Regions from separate parts of the Homo sapiens genome. Here region 1 is linked to region 2. The links are contacts of gene promoters, found by promoter capture Hi-C in blood cells and fetal thymus (Javierre and others, 2016). All regions are on one chromosome and are shown on one strand. Each heading gives the region's core, a stretch centred on a gene start or on the middle of the fragment in contact. The rest is flanking DNA. Distances are from core to core; before and after follow the strand shown.

The links. Contacts are between HindIII fragments. The CHiCAGO score rates a contact against its expected background, and 5 or more counts as called.
Region 1: a fragment that was not itself captured here is called in contact with the fragment with the promoter of PAQR9 in region 2 in 1 of 17 cell types (endothelial precursors); the score reaches 5.1 in endothelial precursors.

The regions. Positions count from the first base shown.
Region 1 is chr3:142,627,673-142,630,804 of GRCh38, forward strand. The region is part of intron 1 of PLS1 (plastin 1); the gene reads left to right. The region is part of intron 2 of PLS1-AS1 (PLS1 antisense RNA 1); the gene reads right to left. Among named protein-coding and RNA genes, the nearest start is that of PLS1-AS1, 28 kb to the right of the region's middle. The HindIII fragment of the contact is 1,037 bases long and covers 1,304-2,340 here.
Region 2 is chr3:142,962,424-142,965,645 of GRCh38, forward strand. It overlaps PAQR9 (progestin and adipoQ receptor family member 9), which reads right to left and starts at 1,251. Exons shown (of 1, transcript NM_198504.4): 1 at 1-1,251. The coding sequence starts at 913. PAQR9-AS1 (PAQR9 antisense RNA 1) reads left to right here and starts at 1,635. Exons shown (of 5, transcript NR_125393.1): 1 at 1,635-1,675; 2 at 2,042-2,213. RefSeq lists a silencer at 280-465. The HindIII fragment of the contact is 6,414 bases long and covers 1-3,222 here.

The DNA of each region.
Region 1 (3,132 bases), core at 572-3,071, 330 kb before region 2:
CAGGCTGGAGTGCAGTGTTGCTATCAGGGCTCACTGCAGCCTCGACCTCCCAGGCTCAAGAGATCCTCCTGAGGAGCTGGGAACACAGGCATGTACCACCATGTCCAGTTATTTTTTTTCAGACTTTTTTTTTTTTTTAATAGAGACAGAGTCTCCCTGTGTTGCCCAGGCTGGTCTTGAACTCCTGGCCTCAAGCAATCCACCTGCCTTGGCCTCCCAAAGTGCTGCAATTACAGGTATGAGCCACCATGCTGGGCCAATCATATTTTAATTTTTAGAAAAAAATGAGGATTTGGAGTTGTTAGAATTGAGAAACTAAAAAGAACCATGTACAGAAAGAATTGTTTTGTAAACCTCTATACTGAGTCATCTAATTTCAATGTCTACATAAAAGAAGCTCAGAGCTCTTTCTTGAATATCATGTAGAAAGATGATACCTTGGTTCCCTTGAGAACCTGATTCATGACATCATTGCTTTTGGCCATTCAGGAGTCAGTTCGGTTTTTTGAAAGGAACATGGAACTGGGACTCGGGCACACTGAAAATACTACCAGCTTTGACACTTACTAGTGGATGATCTAGGCTGTTTAGCTTGATCTCTCTGAATCTGTTTCCTTATATGTGGAAATGGGAATAAAGATGGGTCCCAGAATATAGTGTGTGTGTGTGCGCGCACATGTGCATGCAGTGTGCATGTGTGCGCGCACATGTGCATGCAGTGTGCATGTGTGCATGCATATGTGTATGTGTATAAATTTATGTAGTGTAATAATATTATTTTTATTCTCATTTTACATATTAGGAAACAGCTAATAATTCTATAATATGTAATATTCAGTCCTGTTCCTTAGCTCACTGGGCTGATGTGAAAGTCAGATGTGATAATACATCTGAAAGTGCTTTATAAATTAGAAAACACTTAAATGTGAAATGTAATTTACCTTGATAATGGCACCTGTTACTTATAATATCATGGTGGTCTTCCTTAGTCTTTGGTTTTAGGCCACCATGAAGAATCACTTTCAAACTTATTTCTTTCTTTCACAACATTTGTCATTGTTATTAGCTGAGAATGAAATCTCTAGTGAATTTGTCCTGAGACATTCATACTACCTTATGACTTAATGAAAAAACCCATCACTTTGAAACAGACAAACAAAAAACACTGGGTCAGCCAATTAATGCTATTTTAAGTAATGAAGTTAACTGAAGTAAAATATTCTAAGGTTTCAAAAGCTGTATAGAGTCAGATTAACTCTGTAAGCAGAATGACGAAATTCTCTTATGGCAGGTCCAGAGGGGAAGCTTCCTGGACCCAGCCTTAGATTGAATAGTGATCATGTGGACTTGTTCCTCACACTTGTTTCAAGTTTGTTTCAATATGACTGTAGTTGTTTTGATACTAATATGTGCCTACTAGCTGAGTGCTACTGGGCAAGTTAGTTAACCTTAGTGAGCTTGATTTTATAAGTAAAAATAGAGATAACAACTGCTACTTTTGGTGGCTGTTTTAAGGATTGGAAATAATTTTTTTTTTTTTTTGAGACATAGTCTCACTCTGTCACCCAGGCTGGAGTGCAATGGCGCGATCTTGGCTTACTGCAACTTCTGCCTCCTAGGTTCAAGCAAGTCTTCTGCCTCAGCCTCCTAAGCCTGAGTAGCTGGGATTACAGGTGCACACCACCATGCCCGGCTAATTTTTGTATTTTTAGTAGAGACGGGGTTTCACCATGTTGGCCAGGCTGGTCTCGAACTCCTGACCTCATGATCCACCCGCCTCGGCCTCCCAAAGTGCTGGGTTTACAGGCGTGAGCCACTGTGCCTGGCCGGATTAGAAATAATTTATATAAAGTTCCTGGCACATATTCATCAGAATTCTGATTAGCACACATGGGTATGAGGAAACTAACTGGAGACCTGGGAAAGAACTGTCGGGAAGGATTAGAAGGAATAGTGCTTAGCACTCACACAGACCAGGAACAGTGCCAGTTCTTACCAGCCACACGGTAAAAAACCATGTAGTAATGTACAGCTTATTGGGTACTCAGAGGCCTCTTGCCTCAATAATGGGGAATAATTAGCCCACAGACAGTGTGGTTTCTCAACCTCAGCACTATAGGAATGTTAGACTTGATAATTCTTTGTTTTAAGGGGATCTCCTGTGTATTATATGATGTTTAGCAACGTCCCTGGCCTCAACACACTAGATGCCAGTGATGCCTCCTTTTGTGAAAGTAAAAAATGTCTCCAGACATTGCCAGATGTCCTCTGGGGATCATAGTCATCTCCTGTTGAGAATCAGAGCCCTAAACTCACTTCTGTGCTGGTCCTGCCTAATGAAGCTTAAAAGCAAGACCTAAGGGTCAAACTCTTTCCAAGTAATTTAACTGCATCCAAGAATAAAGATCAAGAATGGTTATAGGGTTTCCCCCCACCTACAGAAACAGAAAAAAAAATTTAAAATTTTGGCCTGGCAAGGTGGCTCACACCTGTAATCCCAGCACTTTGGGAGGCCGAGGCAGGTAGATCACTTGAGGCCAGGATTTTGAGACCATCCTGGTCTCATGGTGAAACCCCATCTCTACTAAAAAGACAAAAACTATCGGGGCGTGGTGGCAGGTGCCTGTAATACCAGCTGCTCAGGGGGCTGAGGCGGGAGGATTGCTTGAGCCCAGGAGGTGGAGGTTGTAGTAAGCTGAGATTGCACCAGTGCACTCCAGCCTGGGCAACACAGTGAGACCCTGCCTCAAAAAAAAAAAAAAAAAAAACAAACAAAACACTCTGAAATATAAAATCCTGGCTGGGTGCAGTGGCTCATGCCTGTAATCCCAGCACTTTGGGAGGCCGAGGTGGGCAGATCATGATGTCAGGAGTTCGAGACCAGCCTGGCCAACATGGTGAAACTCCATCTCTACTAAAATTACAAAAATTAGCCGGTCATGGTGGTGAGTGTCTGTAATCCCAGCTACTCAGGAGGCTGAGGTGGGAGAATTGCTTGAAACCAGAAGGTGGAGGTTGCAGTGAGCCAAGATCATGCCACTGCTCTCCAGTCTGGGCAACAACAGCAAAACTCTGTCTCAAAAAAGAAAAAAAAGAAAATCTCAAGCAACCTTGAATATCCAAAGCAATCTT
Region 2 (3,222 bases), core at 1-2,500:
CGAAAAGACCCGGCTGGATGCGCTCGGGGATCTTGCTCACGTTGAAGAAGGCGGCCACCACCAGCCAGAAGTAGCGGCGGTAGAAGTGCACGAAGAGTGTGGGGTTCTCCCCACGCAGGTCGAAGAGCCAGCTCTCGAGCATAATGGGGCAGGCCATGCTGAGCGGCATGACGAAGACGAAGGTGCGCAGCGCGAACGGGTAGGTACACCAGTCGGTACGGCTCTTGCAGCAGGCCACAGTGCAAGCCACCGCCAGCACGAAGGCCACAGGCAGCACCAGGGCGCGGTAGGCGGCGATAAGGCGCGTGCAGTCCACGTGCCAGCCCAGGCGCTGCTGCAAGTATGGAGTCATGACTCTGGCATCCAGCAAGCTGAGGCCTGGCAACAGGTAGTAGTAGTAGGCCACCGTGCTGCCGAAGCCGTAGTAGCTGATGGACGCGTAGTCCAGGTAGAAGAAGGCGGCGCGCAGACGCAGCGACAGGCAGCTGAACACGTGCGCCGTGCAGCTCATGGCGAAGGTCAGCAGCACTCCCGACGCGTAGCACCACAACGGTAGCAGCCACGGGTGGTGGAAGGGCACGTCGCCGCCGCTCAGGAAGAACAGACGGCAGAACTTGCTCAGGAACAGCAGCAGCGGGATGAAGTGCGTCCAGAAGTTGAGCGTCTCGTTGGTAGGCTTCAGCACCGAGGCTAGGCACTCCTGGGCCGTGCACGGCAGACGCCGGTAGCCCGACAGGATGAAGCACTCCACGAAGTCGTCGGGCACCTCGTCCCAGCGCAGCAGCGGCTTGGCAGACGCTGGGGGGTCCCGGGAGGCGGCAGAGTGGGAGTTCCGGGCGGCCCCCGAAGCTGCCGGGGCCGGGGCCGGAGGGCCTTTTGTGCCCGCGCCCCGGGGCTGCAGGCGCCGCGGCATGGTGCCCGGGGCTCGGCTAGGGCGCGCGCAGGCGACCTCTGGCGCCGGCTCCCGGGCGCTGGGCAGCCCCCGCCGGCCGCCGTCGGAGCCTTTGTGCCCACGCCGGGGGCGTCGCTGCAGGTTTAGGAGAAGACCCGTGCCTCCGAGCAGCCGCTCCTAAAAATTAAATAAATCAATAAGAGAATCAATTAATAGGCAGCGCTGCGACCGCCAGGAGCGCGGAGCGCGCGAGGCTCAGCGGCTTCCTCGCCAAGCCCCTGCTACCGGCGCGCGGCCGCCCGCGCTGCGGCAGCGGCGGCGGCGCGGCTGACTGCGGCGGCAGCGCGGCAGCGGTGACTGGGCATCGCGCGGTGCGGGTGCCTCCGCCGCCGCCGCCCCCGGAGCGGGAGGTGGGGATGTGCGAGCCGAGGCGCGGAGGGAGGGACGGGCGCACCGAGGAAGGGCGGGGGCCTCCCAGGCTAGGGTTTCGCGGCCGCTTCGGGGGATAGAGTTGTCCCCTGTCTCGAGTTCCGTACCATCCCCCTCCTCGGGCCGCCGCAGCCCGGGCCGCCCCGTTAATGATTGATGCGGGGGCCGCAGGCTGGTCGGCGACGCGGCGGCGCGCGCGCCGAGTACTAGAGTCGGCCCTGGGGTTCGAAACCCGACAGCCACGCGGGCGTTCTGGAGGACACTGGGGAGCCGCGTTCGCGGGGGGCGGGGAGCTGCGGCTGCGGGGGGAGGGGAGGGCGCCGGAGCCGGGCAGGGCGGAGAGATGCGCCAGCGGTAATCTCCGGAGGTCGCCGGGGAGGGGGGCACTCCGGAAGTCGGGGGGCTTTAAGCCCGCGTCCGGATCGGGGCCGTGTCATTGTCAGCTACCTGGGGATGCGCCTCTCGCTCCCTCACTGTCTTTGCGTGTGTGTTAGTGTGTGTGTGTGTGTGTGTGTGTGTGTGTCGGCCTGTCTACGCACTACACGAAGGCTTAGTTGGTCTTCTTTCGTCTAGTGGGCGCACTCAGGTGCGTCACCATTCTGCCGTTTCCCTCGCCCTTGTCCTGTCCGAAAGAACCGTCCGCAAGCTGCCCTGTGGTCGCGCTCACCAGCTCTTCGAGCCGCAGCTAACCCATCTTCTTGTTTTTGTGTCTTTAACTAGGACTTCTATTTGGAACTGAGTCCGACAGCTCAGGACTGGCTGCTCAAACTCCACAATTTAATGAAAAATCTCAGATGATGACTCAGAAAACCTCTAATGATCTGAGGAATATATTAAGGGATTCCAGAGTCAAAGGCTGATCATGGAGGGCATTGATGAGGGAAGACTTCAGGTAGGAGGTGCATTCTAGCAGGAACTGAAGAGAATGAAGTCCAGTTGGTAGAAACGGAGGGGGTGGCTTGGATAAATCTTATATGTAATTAATCAGAAGTACCTGGCAGGTGGCTGGAGACCAGAAGAAAGGAACACTGGAAGAATGAAAACGGTTGTGATGCACTGCAGTGTGAAAATATGCCCTTGAGCCTTAAAGAAAGGGGCTTAAGGCCGGGCGCGGTGGCTCACGCCTGTACTCCCAGCACACAGATCACGAGGTCAAGAGATTTGAGACCATCCTGGCCAACACGGTGAAACCCCGTCTCTACTAAAAATACAAAAAATTATGTGGGAGTGGTGGCGCACGCCTGTAGTCCCAGCTACTCGGGAGGCTGAGGCAGGAGAATCGCTGGAACCCAGGAGGCGGAGGAGGTTACAGTGAGCCGAGATCGCGCCACTGTACTCCAGCCTGGCGACAGAGCGAGACTCCGTCTCAAAAAAAAAAAAAAAAAGAAAAAGAAAAGAAAGGCTACTTTCATCGCTACTGCACATCCTCTAAGTAGGTTAAGGAAGATTTACTTAGTAGAGCCTCAAGATGGATTTAAGTTATGGATAAGAATTATTTATAACTAGGATATCATTCAGTATTATAAGTGTCTGCAGTTACTTAAGGATGCTAGAAACAGTCTAGAAGTTTCAGTCTTCTCTCTGAAGTATACTTTCAAGTAGTAACTGATTTAGCAAGCTCTTACACAATTAGATCAAACGTGCGCTTCAGTCTTCTGCCTTTCTGCACTGCCACACATTCCTGTCTAGTGGATTTTTTTTTTTAGGCGTGGATTTTTAAGAAGTGAGATTTTGTTGTAGTTATTTAGCCAGTGTCTTATTTTAGTGTTTTCTGGTTTTCCACTGTTTGTAGCTTGTTTTAAATTGAAATCTAATTTCCTTTTATATCTGGACTGAGGACCCATGGCTATTTGTAAAATGGATTAAATTTAGGTGTTTTAATCAAGTGTAGGAATGATAAA